Regions from separate parts of the Homo sapiens genome. Here region 2 is linked to region 1. Evidence: promoter capture Hi-C in human tissues and cell types (Jung and others, 2019). All regions are on one chromosome and are shown on one strand. Each heading gives the region's core, a stretch centred on a gene start or on the middle of the fragment in contact. The rest is flanking DNA. Distances are from core to core; before and after follow the strand shown. Region 1 holds the start of MUC4 (mucin 4, cell surface associated). Region 2 overlaps ACAP2 (ArfGAP with coiled-coil, ankyrin repeat and PH domains 2).

The links. The method cuts DNA at HindIII sites, captures the fragments that hold promoters and counts their contacts. A contact is called where the count stands out against the background at its distance.
Region 2: a contact is called between a fragment that was not itself captured here and the fragment with the promoter of MUC4 in region 1, in 1 of the 25 tissues and cell types used here (ovary).

What each region holds. Positions count from the first base shown.
Region 1 is chr3:195,808,871-195,816,232 of GRCh38, forward strand. MUC4 (mucin 4, cell surface associated) reads right to left here and starts at 3,059. Exons shown (of 25, transcript NM_018406.7): 1 at 2,866-3,059. The coding sequence starts at 2,947. It overlaps LOC124905352 (vegetative cell wall protein gp1-like), which reads left to right and starts at 6,835. Exons shown (of 3, transcript XM_047449429.1): 1 at 6,835-7,362. The coding sequence starts at 6,845. RefSeq lists enhancers at 192-755, 756-1,319. The HindIII fragment of the contact is 26,053 bases long and covers 1-7,362 here.
Region 2 is chr3:195,426,429-195,433,790 of GRCh38, forward strand. All of the region lies in intron 1 of ACAP2 (ArfGAP with coiled-coil, ankyrin repeat and PH domains 2), which reads right to left. Among named protein-coding and RNA genes, the nearest start is that of ACAP2, 13 kb to the right of the region's middle. RefSeq lists an enhancer at 7,355-7,362. The HindIII fragment of the contact is 5,776 bases long and covers 1-5,471 here.

The DNA.
Region 1 (7,362 bases), core at 1,809-4,308:
TGTCCCAGACTGACAGATAGACCGGGGGTTCTCCGAGGAGGGGCCCATAAAGACCCTTCCCCGTGGAGTGCGCTGTGGCCGGCGTCCCCTCCCCTGCCTGCCCTGCACTTGCTCCAGCCTGTCACCTCCCTGGGGTCACTGATAGTGCTGGAGACCAAGGCCTATTTCGACCCAGTTGCCTTTCCCTGTGGCATGGAACCAGGACGGCCAGGCTTCCTTCTGAGTCATTCCTGCCTGGGGCGACCAGTAGACACCAAATTTCCATCTGTCCTTGTCTAGCCCACCTCTGTCTGCTGTGCCTTATCCTTTAACCCTTGAGAGCCAGGGCTGTTCCTTAAGGAAACCCTCATTGCGGCAGCTCCTTTGTGGAAACCCTGTGTTTTTCCTCTGGCCTGGGCTTCAGTGTGACCCAGCCTGGGTGAGGGTCCTGCCGGCAAGTGTGCAAACAGACCCTAGACTCAAGTATAGGCAGGTCATCTGTAAACCCCTTCAGGGAGCCAAAAGGAACGGGGCTGGCTGGCTGCCAGTCCTCCAGCAGCTGCCCTGTGGGGGTGGGGGCTGCCCACCCGCCCTTGGTGACTGCTTTTCCTGCCAAGGCCCTGGTCATGCCCGGTCAGATGTGTGGGTGCCATCTCCCAGCCACGACCATCTCCTCTCCTGGCCCAGCTCCACTTGGTCCCCTTAGCGACGCAAAGGACTCAGCGCTCCACGACATGCCTAGCTTCTTCGGGTCGTCATGGAGACGCCCTTGCACACCAACAGTCCTTCACTCCTTCTCCGGGTCACGCCCCCGTGCTTTTCCACGCCCACCCCAGGTCTTGCCCCTCTGCGCTCCTCTCCACAGACCCCACTTCCTGGCTCCACATGGAGCTGAGTGTCCAGCTGGTACCCAGCACATTTGGGCTCAGCTTTAAATCACAGATTTGGAAACTCAAGAACTTGGGCGTCAGGAGGTCCAACCGTTCACCACTGCTTTTTACACAGGGGACCGGGGCCCTGGGGAGACACGGGGCAGGGCCTGGTCACAGGGGCCAGAACAGTTCACGGCAAAGACTTGGCCCTGGGGCTCCTAAATCCAAGCTGCCTCCCCGGCGCCCCAAGCCCCAGCCTCGCTCTGGGAGTCATGATTCCCGTGGAGACTCCTTCAACCACATCTGCAGGGCAGGGCCGTGTGGCGGCTCCTTCCGGCCTCCACGTCCTCACGGTGGGATGAGCACTGGAGCGGGGTTGTGTGGCCAGGGTGGGGTGGGGGTGCTGGAGGGTGGGGAGGTGTAGGGAGGTGGTGGCAGTTTCCTTTGCCCTCAGCCTAGTCCTGAAACATCCCGAGGTGGAAGGGTCCGCTTCACCAGCATGGCTTCTCTTGCAGCCTTTAAACGGCACTCGCCTTCTGACTCACTCCCAGGAAGCTCCTCAAATATGCGCCCAAGAAATATTTTCCCTCGGCGACTGTTCTTAGCCTGCTGAGAGGCAGGGCAGGAGCTGAGACTCTAACCCCAGCTTGAACTCTGGACCCCAGACTCTCCCCCAAAGACTCAGACACCCAGAAACACAGAATAAAACTTGGTCCTGAAGCCAGAGGGACAGCCTGGAAAGTGTGGGGAAGAGGACGGGGGCCCCCGAGGGAACATCTCCCACAGGCCTGGCATCCCTCCCCTCCCAGCTCTGTACACGGAGGAGCCCAAGGCCAATGCCGGGGCTACGAGCCCCAGGCAAGGCCGTGACCCAAATGGAGGCTTTTAAACCCGAGCTCAGAGGTAAGAAGCCCACGGCCAGCACCTCCCGGCCCTCTGCGCCCTGGCCGCCTCCTCCGCACCACCCTCCCGGCCGGCCTGCCCCTCTCCTCCTTGTCGCTTCCCTTGCTTGCTGCTGTCTCCCGATCTTCTCCTCTCTCCATTCCCAGGGTCCTCAGTTTGTCTGCGTCTCACCTGTCTCGTCCTCTCACCCTGCAGCTTTACATGAGTTTTCTTCCGTCTCCATCACCCAGCTTTCCTGGCATCCCCTCTACCCCCAGCTCTGTACACAAGGGTGTACATCTTTCTCCTTGACTCTGTTCCTCTTGCTCTGGCTCTGCCTGTCTTTCTCTCTGCGAGTAAGCCTGGGCTCTCACCATGGATCCTTCCAGACATCGCCGGGCTGCTCTCTGGCCCTCTGTTCTCTTTTCTCTCTCTTTCGAGCATTCTCCCTCTGTCTTTCCCCTCAGATCTTGTCCCGTATCTGCCAGTTCATGCCTCCTCTTCCCCACTTTTCTCCTCTTCTTATTTTTTATTTTATTTTATATTTATTTATTTATTTATTTATTTATTTATTTATTTATTTATTTTGAGACAGAGTCTCGCTCTCTCTCCCAGGCTGGAGTGCAGTGGCGCGATCTTGGCTCACTGCAACCTCCACCTCCCAGGTTCAAGTGATTCTCCTGCCTCAGACTCCTGAGTAGCTGGAATTACAGGTGGGGCCCACCACGACCGGCTAATTTTTGTATATTTAGTAGAGACGGGGTTTCACCATGTCGGCCAGGCTGGTCTCGAACTCCTGACCTCAGGTGATCTCCTGCCTTGGCCTCCGAAAGTGCTGGGATTACAGGCATGAGCCACCGCGCACGGCCTCCACTCTTCTTTCTCTCTCCCTCTTCTCTTCCTCTTCTTTCCCTCTCTGGGTCTCTCTCCACCTTCCCCCCATGTTGTCCCATTCATCTCTTTCTCCTTTCCCTCTCCCTCTTTTTCTCTCCCTTCTCTTCCTCTTCGCTGTCTCCCTTTCCCCTATTCTCTCTCTCTCTCTCTCTGTCTCCCCGGACCTCTTTCTCTGACAGCTCCCACCTCCCCCAAGTGCTCCCCGCAGCCAGCCTCATCTGCTGTCTCCATCACTTACCTGGGACCACATGCGGAAGGAGGCAGAGACACAGGCAGCTCAGGGACACCCAGGGGACCCTCCTCCAGCGTGCCCCCTTCATGGCTGCGGCAAAAGTCCCCCTGGCTCCCTGGGGAAGCTCCACGGCCCAGCAGCTGCAGTGTGAGGAGCAGACGTGAGCCCGTCCCCTCAGGCGGCTGGCCCGAACCAAGTGCGTTTCTCCGAAGGGGCCAGGGAACCTGGGAAGAGGACAAAAGAGGGCGGGGCCCCACGCTAATCACCCTTTTCTCTCCTCAGCCCCACCCCACTACCCCACCAGGAAAGAAAACACCGATACACCCGTTGCTCTGCTTCTCATCAGCCTGAGCTGAGTGGCGGGAGGGATGGGAGGAGACATGGGGGAATGGGAACAGGTCACACTGGAAATGGGTGGGCCACCCTCCTAGCCGGGTTCCTGGGTCCTCTCCTCCCTCCCCAGGGGCTGCCCCTGTCCCACCAGAGCTTTGGGCTGCTGGGAAGAATGGGGAAGAAAGGGCCCCAGAGGGAGCGACCTTGGGGCTGTATGAATGGGGGAAAGAGAGTGAGACTTAAGCAGACCCCAAGGAATTGGGAAGCGGGGAACCATGTGGGTGAGGGGCAGGAACAGAAATGCACTGTATGCCGTCTTTTGGAAAGGGGTGGTGTGCTTGGAATATCTGCTCAGTGCAGGCGCGTGGCAGACCCCAGACGCGTGGCAGACCCCAGACGCGTGGCAGACCCCAGACGCGTGGCAGAACCTCAGTGCAGATGCGTGGCAGACCCCAGACGCACGGCAGATCCCAGACACATGGCAGACCCCAGACCCATGGCAGACTCCAGACGCGTGGCAGACCCCAGACGCGTGGCAGACTCCAGACGCATGGCAGAACCTCAGTGCAGACTCGTGGCAGAACCTCAGTGCAGACGCATGGCAGACCCCAGATGCGTGGCAGACCCTCACCAGATGGTGGACTTCTTCTTTCCAGGGCAGGGAGCTGGAGCCAGGGTGCAGGGAGCCAGGGACAGTCTGGGAGACTGGCCTGAGGGAGCTGGCATGGGCAGTGGGTTGAAGGCAGAACCTCGGTAGGAGGAAGCGACTGTAACCTGTGAGGAGGTGGAGCTGCTCCTGGAGACCTGGGGGCTCTGCTCACCCCAGTTCCACCTCTTGGAACTCACAGGCACAAGCGAGGAGGGAAAGGGACCCCAAGTAGGGTTGTAAAGACGAAGAGGGCAGTTGGTGTAGCTCTCTGCAAAGGAAAACGGGGATACCTCCGCTCCCCTCTTTGCCACAGTGTGAATCTCTGCTTCTGATTCCTCAAGACTTGATTCCCGAATGTGGGGTGTCTGTGGGGTGACTCGTCCCAGAGCAGGGACCTTCGATGCTCAGACACTGTGGGGCCCAGGACAAGGACTCAGGGTTTCTGCATTCCCAAGCAGAGCCAGCCTTGTCCAGCAAGGAGTAGGCAACCGACGCTGTGGCGCTGTCTCCGAGGGTCACGGAGGCCCTGTGACCACTTGCTTCTAGAAGCTGAAAGTCTGTTCATGGCCCCAGGCCAAAGCCTGGGCCACGCCATAATAATGCGGATACCGTGGGGAAGTGGCGTGGTCCCCCAACAGTCCCTCCAGCTCTGGGTGGACGAGCTGACCCTGTTCTTTCCTGGAGGTAAGAAAATCATAAAGGTAAAGAGTCATGTGGAGCATCCTGTGGGCGCCTGGACGGGGCAGCAGGAGGGACCTACTGCAGGGAATTCGCAGACACCAAGGCCCAGCTTGGCCTTCGTGATCATTTTGCACTTTTTTTTTTTTTTGAGATGGAGTCTTGCTCTGTCGCCCAGGCTGGAGTGCAGTGGCACCATCTCAGCTCACTGCAAGCTCCGCCTCCCGGGTTCACGCCATTCCCCTGCCTCAGCCTCCCTAGTAGCTGGGACTACAGGCACCTGCCACCACGCCCGGCTAATTTTTTTTGTATTTTTAGTAGGGACGAGGTTTCACCATGTTGGCCAGGTTGGTCTCGAACCCCTGAACTCAGATGATCCGCCCGCCTTGGCCTCCCAAAGTGCTGGGATTACAGGCGTGAGCCACTGCACCCGGCCCGTGGTCATTTTTCTGTCAGCTCTTGCTCGTGGGTCCCCCCATTACCTTTCCACAGGTTTTGTTTGGTGACGCTTTCAGGACAACAGTTTTCCATCTCTAGAGGAGAAAGGAGCATCCAGGTGAGACCAAACTAAGCGCTGGACATCTTGTTGACCGAACACAGGTAGCTGACCTCTTTCCCATGCCAGGAAGGCCAGAGGCACACAGCGCTCTCCGGAAGCTGCTGTGACGGCCGAGACTCCAGGAGGGCGTTACAAACCTGGGCTTGATCCCAGCTCTGCCACCGCGTCACCACAAAGTCACAGCCTCTTCGAGCTGTTTTCCTCGTTCACCTGTAAAATGGGGATAACACCTATCTGAAAGGTTGTAGGGTGGGAGTGAGCCTGTAGATGCTGAGGGGCTGCGGGAGTATTAGGACACCTGTTGTGAGGACACCTGTTGTTACGACACCTGTTGTGAGGACACCTGTTGTGGAGGACACCTGTGGAGGAACGTGGCTCCTCCTTCCATCCGGGCATCATCCCTGGAGGGAGACACAAACGAGGGCCAGCCAGGATACAGGAGGAGTCCGGAAGTGAATTTCCAGGCCCAGGTCTTTCCTGCGTCCCCTTTGAGTCTTATAGGATCCTGATTAGGAGCGTGAGATCCTGGAGAACTGGGCGTGCGCACTCCTGTTCACCTCTTCCCTGCCCACGCCCGTTTCCCTTCTGCTTTCCAGCTCCCCTCAATATGCCCATTTTCCAGAGTTAGGATGTGTCTGGGTCTCTGTGATAAATGGCTCTGTCTTCATCTGGGTTGGGTCACGGGACACCCATTTGTCCTTCCTTCTCTCCTCCCAAGGCATCCGATGGGGACAGAATGGGGTGAATGAGAGGGGACAAAATGAGTGGCTTCTCTAGTTCCTTGTGGCCGAAAAACCTCCTAGGCCCGCATACTGCTGGGTCTGCATAGGGGCAGGAGTCTGAAGTCAGGTGTAAGTTAATATTCCACGGGAGGCAGGAAGAGCTTAGTGTGGATGTGGGGTGTAAGTAAATTGGAGCAAGGATAAGATCATGAGATTCTCCCAGACTTGGCTTGAAGAGACAGCTGGGTTTGAGGCAGCAAAGCCAGGATCTCCAAGAGAGATTCCCCTTCTAAGCTACCCAAGTAGGAGTCCCTAGTTTTTTGGGTCCCCTAAAATTGCTTACCTTTATATCATTTATGCCTCGTGCTGTGAATAAAGTTCAATCTTGTCAGACTTAGGACAACTAGGCTGATCTCGAGCAGGAAGCTGGATGTTTATTAAGTCTGATTTACCTACTCAGTCTGGACTAAAAAGGTGTGTGGATTCCCTAGTCAGTGACCCAGCATGAAGCCGGTCACTAGAGTGCCAGGCCCTGAGCCTGTCCCCATGGCCCTGTGAAGTACAAAGCGCTGCCCTACCTCTCAAGTGAGCACGCTGAGGCTCCAGGAGCTTCATCATCCCCGAGTCACCGGCCAGGTCGGGCCATCTAGGGAAACTGGAGAGTGTTAACTCCGCAGTTACAGCCTTCTGGGCCACACACTGTCCCAAAGCTGGAATTTGAGCTCTGTTCTGCCTGGCTCCAAAGCAAAAGAAGGGCAATCACCTGGGCTGACCGCCCACGACATCCTTCGCTCCGGGTCCTTTCCCGGTGGCAGGTGGAGACGGCCTTTTGGAGGGGCCTCGCTGTCCAGCTGCAAGGATAGTGGTTAGTGGACAGCTCCCAGCTGCTGGCCCCTGCAGGGTGGGCCTTGCTTTTATGCTGAGCTCATGCTCTTCTCCAGGTGACCCTGTGGCCGATGACTAAGCAAAGTGGCATCACAGTGACCTCACCATTTCCACCCCACAAGACTCCGCCAACAGGCAGTCTGCCCCTCAGAGCGCCCCATGGGCAGGAGCTTTGTGGCTGTGTCAGCTGTGCCACATCCTCCTGCCCAGCCCGGCCTCCTTCTTCTTACACAGGTGCCACATCCTCCTGCCCAGCCCGGCCTCCTTCTCCTTACGCAGGTGCCACATCCTCCTGCCCAGCCCGGCCTCCTTCTCCTTACGCAGGTGCCACATCCTCCTGCCCAGCCCGGCCTCCTTCTCCTTACGCAGGTGCCACATCCTCCTGCCCAGCCCGGCCTCCTTCTCCTTACGCAGGTGCCACATCCTCCTGCCCAGCCCGGCCTCCTTCTCCCTACGCAGGTGCCACATCCTCCTGCCCAGCCCGGCCTCCTTCTCCTTACGCAGGTGCCACATCCTCCTGCCCAGCCCGGCCTCCTTCTCCTTACGCAGGTGCCACATCCTCCTGCCCAGCCCGGCCTCCTTCTCCTTACGCAGGTGCCACATCCTCCTGCCCAGCCCGGCCTCCTTCTCCTTACGCAGGTGCCACATCCTCCTGCCCAGCCCGGCCTCCTTCTCCT
Region 2 (7,362 bases), core at 1,334-3,833, 380 kb before region 1:
CAGGAAGGGGGCCATTCTAAAAGATAATTAGTCTAAACTCTTCAGAAAAGCAAGTAACCTAAGAGTGTTATCAAATTATCAATAATCTAGAGAAGCAGGGTATCAACACATCTAAAACAGGATTAAGCAGTATTATGTCACAACAACTTCACAGAATATACGATGCAGTCTTTTTTTAGCCATAAAACCTTCCTGGCTAGTTCTACTCTTCCCCTTTCTCACTACGGCAACTGAGTAGTCCAAAAAAGAAAAAAGAAAAAACTTCCTAACAATATTAAACATTTATACTATTAAATTAAAAATAGCAAAGCCACCAAAATTTGCACTATGATTATAAGGTCATATGTAAACCAATGAGCACAGATTAGATCTTTGGCAAGATTACAAATCAGTGTTGAGACTTTTGAGGATATTGGGATGGGGTGAATATGTTTTGCATGTGGAATAGAGGTGAATTTTGGGGAGCCAGGGGGTGGACTGTGGTAGACAAAATAATGCCCCCCGCCACCCGCCCCCACCAAGGATGTCAACATCCGAATCCTCAGAACCCGCAAATACGTTAGGTTACACGGCAAAGGGAAATTAAGGTTGCTATCATCTGACCTTGAGATTGGGAGATTATTCTGGAATGTCAGCCCAACATTATCACAAGGGTCCTTATCAGTAAAAGAGGAGGATAGAAGAGGGAGTATCACAACCACTGCTGGCTTTGGAGATGGAAAGGGGCCATGAGCCAAGGAATATGGGCAGCCCTTTGAAATTGGAGAAGGCAAGGTATAAAAAACTAAAATAAAGGATTCTTCCCTAGACCTTCCAGAAAAGAATGCAGCCCTGCCAACTGGCCTTTTATTTTAGCCCAGTGAGATCTGTATCAAAACTGTGATCTCCAGAACTGTAAAATCATTTTGTGTCGTTTTAGGCCACTAAGTTTGGGGTAATTTGCTATAACGGCAATAAAAAGCTAGTCATCCATCATTTAACAAAGGTGATACCTTCTCGGAGGTGCACTGTTAGATGACTTCTTCACTGGGCAAGCATCACAGACTACAAGCCACCTCGACGGTGTAGCCTATTACACACCTAAGGTACAAGGTATAGCCTATATGGTTCCTAGAATACAAACCTGTACAGTATATTACTTTACTGAATACTGTAGGCAATTGTTAACACAATGTTATTTGTGTATCTAAACATATCTAGGCCGGACGCAGTGGCTCACTCCTGTAATCCTAGCACTTTGAGAGGCTGAGGCAGGTGGACAGCCTGAGCTCAGGAGTTTGAGACCAGCCTGGGCAACATGGCAAAACCTCATCTCTACCAAAAATACAAAAAGTTAGCCAGATGTAGTGGTGTGCACCTGTGTTCCCTGATAGGAGGCTGAGGTGGAAGGATCACTTGAGCCTGGGAGGTGGAAGTTGCAGTGAGACAAGATAACACCACTGCACTCCAACTTGGGTGACAGAGTGAGACCCCATCTCAAAAAAAAGAAAAAACAGGTGCATTCAATTATATGTGCTTGTGTCTGTATGTATACATACACACACACAGATGCATATATATATATATACACACACACGTCTAAAAGATAATTAGTCTAAACTCTAGAAAAGTAACATAAAATTGTTACCAAATTATCAATAATCCAGAAAAGCAGGGTATCAACATGTCCAAAACAGGACTAAGCAGTATTATGTCATAACAACTTAATAGAATATATGACACAATCTGTTGTTGACTGGAATGTGACTGTATATATATACATACATGTATACATATATAGTCATAATTATATGTATGTATATATGCAGTCATATATATAGGTATATATATTATATAGATGTATATATACAGTCATACATAGGTATACATACATAGATATATATACACTCATATATATAGGTGTGTGTGTATATATATATACACACACACACACACTCATATATATAGGTCTATACATATATATACACACACAGTCATATTCCAATCAACAGACCACAAATACAACAGCGGTCCCATGGGATTATAATATCATATTTTTACTGTACCTTTTCTATGTTTAGATATGTTTAGATACACAAATGCCACTGTGTTAAAATTGCCTACAGTATTCAGTACAATAACAAGCTGTACAGGTTTGTATCCTAGGACCCAGAGGCTATATCATATACCCTAGATGTGTAGTAGGCTATACCATCTAAGTTGTGTAAATACACCCTATGATGTTTACATGACAAAATCATGATGCATTTCTCAGAAGATATTCTCGTCATTAAGTAACACATAACTGCAATTAAACACACACATGCAGGAATATATTATATACTCACACAATGGGTAATATCAAAAGGTGATATTACCAAATGCTAGCAAGAATGTGGAGCAACAGGAACACTCAAATATTGTTGGCAGATTTATAAACAGTACAATCGCTTTGGAATAATGCTTTGCAGTTTCTTATAAACACGTTTACCCCTTGACACAGCAATTCAACTCCTAGGTATTTATCTTAAGAGAAATGAAAACCTACCGTAAGAAAATTTGTATAAGAATGTTCGTAACAACTTTATTCACAATGATCAAACAATGGAAGCAATCTATCCATCATCAGGAGAATGAATACATTATGGTACATTCACAAAGAAATACTACACAGCAGTAAGAATGAACTAGTGACACTGGCCAGGTGCAGTGGCTCACACTTGTAATCCCAGCACTTTGGGAGGCTGAGGTGGGTGAATCACTTGAGGTCAGGAGTTCGAGACCAGCCTGGCCAACATGATAAAACCCCATCTCCGCTAAATATACAAAAATTAGTCGGGTGTGGTGGTGTGTGCCTGTAATCCCAGTTATCCAGGAGGCTGAGGCAGGAGAACAGCTTGAACCCAGGAGGCAGTGAGCTGAGATCGCACCACTGCACTCCAGCCTGGGCAAAAGAGCAAGACTCCATCTCAAAAAAAAAAAAAAAAAATGAACTAGTGACACACAGAAAAACATGGATCAATCTCATAGTTAAAATGCTAAGCAAAAGTACCAAAACGCTGAGAATAATAATTGACATACAAACCATAAGAATCTATTTATAATGTTCAACGATAGGCAAAACTAATCTAAAGTTCAAAAAAAGCAAAACAGTGGTTGTCTTTAGGTGGTGGGGGAAGCATTCTGGGAAGATGGAAAATAGGCTGTATCGTGACAGAGGTGTAGGTGACGGGTAGTGTACAATTGTGCATTTCAATGTATGCAAGTTTTTATCAAGAAAAAAACTATGAACACGAATTAATACTTTTTAATTTCTTTTCTTTGGGTGCTTCTACTTTAGGTTTCATATCTAAGAAACCATTGCCTAATTCAAGGTCACAAAAATTTAATCTTATGTTTTCTCCTAAGAGATTTATAGTTTTAGGTCTTCCATTTAGATCTATGATCCATTTTGGGAGAGTTCTTTTTGCCTATGGCACAAGGGAGAGTAAGTATAACAGAAACATAGATGAAACAAGAATTACACAACATTGGTATTTGCTTAAACTGGATAATGAGGGGTCATTAATATTATTCTGTTTAATTTGTATATGCTTGAAATTTTCTATAATCAAAAAATTAAGTGCAAAATGCCAGGAAAGCAACAAATTCAGGTTAGAAAGGAAGATGAAAAGGACAGGTCCAAAACAGTCCATGGATGACTGCCTAATGTTCTCTAATGATTTGTTTCTGCCAAGATGATCTGCCGGGATTTCTTATCTACAGATTATCAGGGAGGGAATTTACTTGATAAAGAAGAGACACAATCTTCTAATGTGATAAAGGACACAAAATAAATCCTACATAAGCTATGAAGCTTATTTGATGGATGTTTGATGCTATTAATTATTGTTACTTTTTTCTGATGTGATAATGGTGTGTAGTTACATAATTTTTTTAAAGTGTATATATTTTCAGAGACATACACATACATACTGATGGAATTCTATACTCTCTGAGATTTGCTTCAAAAATCATATGGGGAGGCCAGGAGCAGTGGCTCACACCTGTAATCCCAGCACTTTGGGAGGCCGAGGTAGGCAGATCACTTGAGGTCAGAAGTTCGAGACCATACCTGGCCAACATGGCGAAACCTCATCTGTACTAAAAATACAAAATTTAGCTAGGCATAGTGGTTCACGCCTATAATCCCAGCTACTCGGGAGGCTGAGGCAGGAGAATCACTTGAACCCGGGAGGCAGAGGTTGCAGTGAGCCGAGATTGCACCACTGCACTCCACCCTGGGTGACAGAGTGTGACCCTGTCTCAACTGAAAAAAAAAAAATCATATGGGGAAACAAGGGGCTGGGGTTTAAAGATCACCATGCATTGATAACTGTTAAGTCAAGGCGAAAGAAATATGGAGGCTCAACATGTATTTTCTATTCCACCTATGCGTTTGATTATAAATGTTCTACGCTTCAAACCTTTTTCAGTAACAGCTATATTGAAATATAATTCACAACATAAATTCACCATTTAAAAATATAGTTTAGTGGGTTTTAGTATATTTAGAGTTCTACAACCATTACCACTAACTCCAGAAAATCTTCATCACTCCCAAAAGAAACCCCATATCCGTTAGCAACCACTAATTGCATTTCCCTCACCCTCCAACCCCTAGAAATCACTAATCTATTTTGGCTCTACAAATTTGCCTATTCTGGACATTTCACATAAAATTATATAATATATGGCTTTTGTGTTTGGCTTATTTCATTTAGTAAAATGTTTCCAAGGTTCATCCATATTATGGCATATAACAGTATTTCATTCCATTTGACAGCTGAATACCTTAATTCCATTTGTATAGATACTTCATATCTTATTTATCCATGTACGGACACAGGTTGTTTCACTTTTTGGCAGTGAATAATGCTCCTATGAACATCCTTGTACAAAGTTTTGTGGGTATATATCTTCATTTCTCTTGGGTATACACCTAGAAGTGGAATGGCTCGCTAGAACTCATATGGTAACTCTATGTTTAACTTTTCTTTTTTTTCCCCAAGACAGAGTCTCGCTCTGTCACCCAGGCTGGAGTGCAGTGGCGTGATCTCGGCTCACTGCAAGCTCCACCTCCTGGGTTCACGCCATTCTCCTGCCTCAGCCTCCCGAGTAGCTGGGACTACAGGTACATGCGACCATGCCCGACTAATTTTTTTTTTTTTTTTGTATTTTTAGTAGAGATGGGGTTTCACTATGTTTGGCAGGATGGTCTCGATCTCCTGACCTCATGATACACTCGTCTCGGCCTCCCAAAGTGCTGGGATTACAGGCATGAGGCACCGCACCCAGCCTCTATGTTTAACTTCTTATCTTAGGAACTCCCAAACTCTTCCAATGTGGCTCACCATTTTACATTCCCACTGGCAGTGCATGAGGGTTCTAACAGCTCCACATTCTTCCCAATGCTGGTTATTATCTGTCTTTTCCAGTATAGCCATCCTAGTGGGTATGAAGTCGTATCTCACCATGATTTTATTTGTATTTATATGCATTGCTAGTTAATGATGTTGAGCATATTTTCATGTGCTTATTGACCATTTGGGTATGTTCTTTGAAGAAATACTTACTCAAATCCTTTGCCCATTCTTTAATTGGATTATTTGTCCTTCGAGTTGCAGAGCTTTACATTCTCTAGATACAAATCCCTTAACAGGTATAATTTGCAAATATTTTCTCTCATTTTGTGCATGACTTTTAATGTTCTGTGTCCTTTGAAGCATGAAAGTTTTTAATTTTAATGAAATTCAATTTATCAATCTTTTCTTGGGTTCCTTGTACTTTAAATTTCATACCTAAGAAACCATTGCCTAATTCAAGGTCACAAAGATTTAATTCTGTTTTCTCCTAAGAGCTTTATAGTTTTAGGTCTTCCATGCAGGCCTGTGATCTATTTTGAGTTAATTTTTGCCTATGACATAAGATAGGGCTCCAACTTCATACTTTCACGTGTGGATATTCAGTTGTCTTTGCACCATTTGTTCAAAAGACTATTCTTTCACGCATTGAATTGTCTGGGTACCTCTGTTAAAACTGGCTCACCATAAATGCAAGGCTTTGTTTCTGGACTCTTCAATTCTATTTCACTGATCTATATGTCTATCCTTATGCCAGTACTACACCGTCTTCATTACAATCACTTTGTAGTAACTTTTGAAATTGGAAATTGAATCCTCCAACTTCGTTCTTTTTCAAGATTGTTTTGGCTGTTCTGGGTTACTTATATTTCCACATGAATTTTAGGATCAGCTTGACAATTTCTTCAAAGAAACCGGTTGGAATTTTCATAGAGATTGCGTTTAGTTTGTAGATCAATTTGGGGAATATTGCCATCTTAACAATATTCAGCCTTCTGATCCATGAACATGGGATGTATTTCCATTTATTCAGGTCTTTAATGTCTTTCAATGGTGTTTTCAGTGTACTGTCTTCTAAGTACTTTCCTCTTTTTGACGCCACTATAGACAGATTGGTTTTCTTTGTTAGTATACAGAAATACAAATAATTTTTGTACATTGATCTTATAGACTACATCCTAGCTGAACTTACTAGTTATAACTGATTTTTGTGGATTCCTTAGCATTTTCTATATACCTTCATCCCTTGGTATCCATAGGACATTGGTTCCAGGACTCCCCCTGCCCACCCCCTGCACTACCCACTAATACCAAAATCCACGGATGCTCAAGTCTGTATATAAAATGGCACTGTATTTGCAAATAACCTTCATACATCATCTTATATACTTTAAATCATCTCTAGATTATTTCTAATACCTAATGCAATGTAAATGTTATGTGTAAATAGTTGTTATACTATTTATTTGTACTTTGTTATCGTTATTTTTTATTGTTTTTTTCCAAAATATTCTCAATCCATGATTGATTGACTCACAAAAGTGGAACCCATAGATACAAAGGCTGATTGTACAAGACTTATTATCTAAAAATATAGTTTTACTATTTCTTTTCCTATATGGATGCCTTTAATTTCTCTTTCCAGCCTAACTGCTCTGGCTCTATCCTCTGCTACAGTGTTGAACAGAAGTGGTGACAGGCTTCTTGCTCCTTATGTTAGGGGAAAGCTTTTAGTCCTTCACCACTAAATATGATGTTAGCTGAGGGTGTTTTAAAGATGGCCGTTATCAAATTAGGATCAAGTTAGGAAATTTTCTATTTTTAGTTTTTTGAATAGTTTTATCATGAGTGTTAGATTTTGTCAAATGCTTTTTCTGCATCTATTGAGATGATTGTGTTGTTTTAATACTTTACCCTATTATTATAGTATATTGCATTGATTGATTTTTGTATATTAAATCAACTTTGCATTCCTGGGATA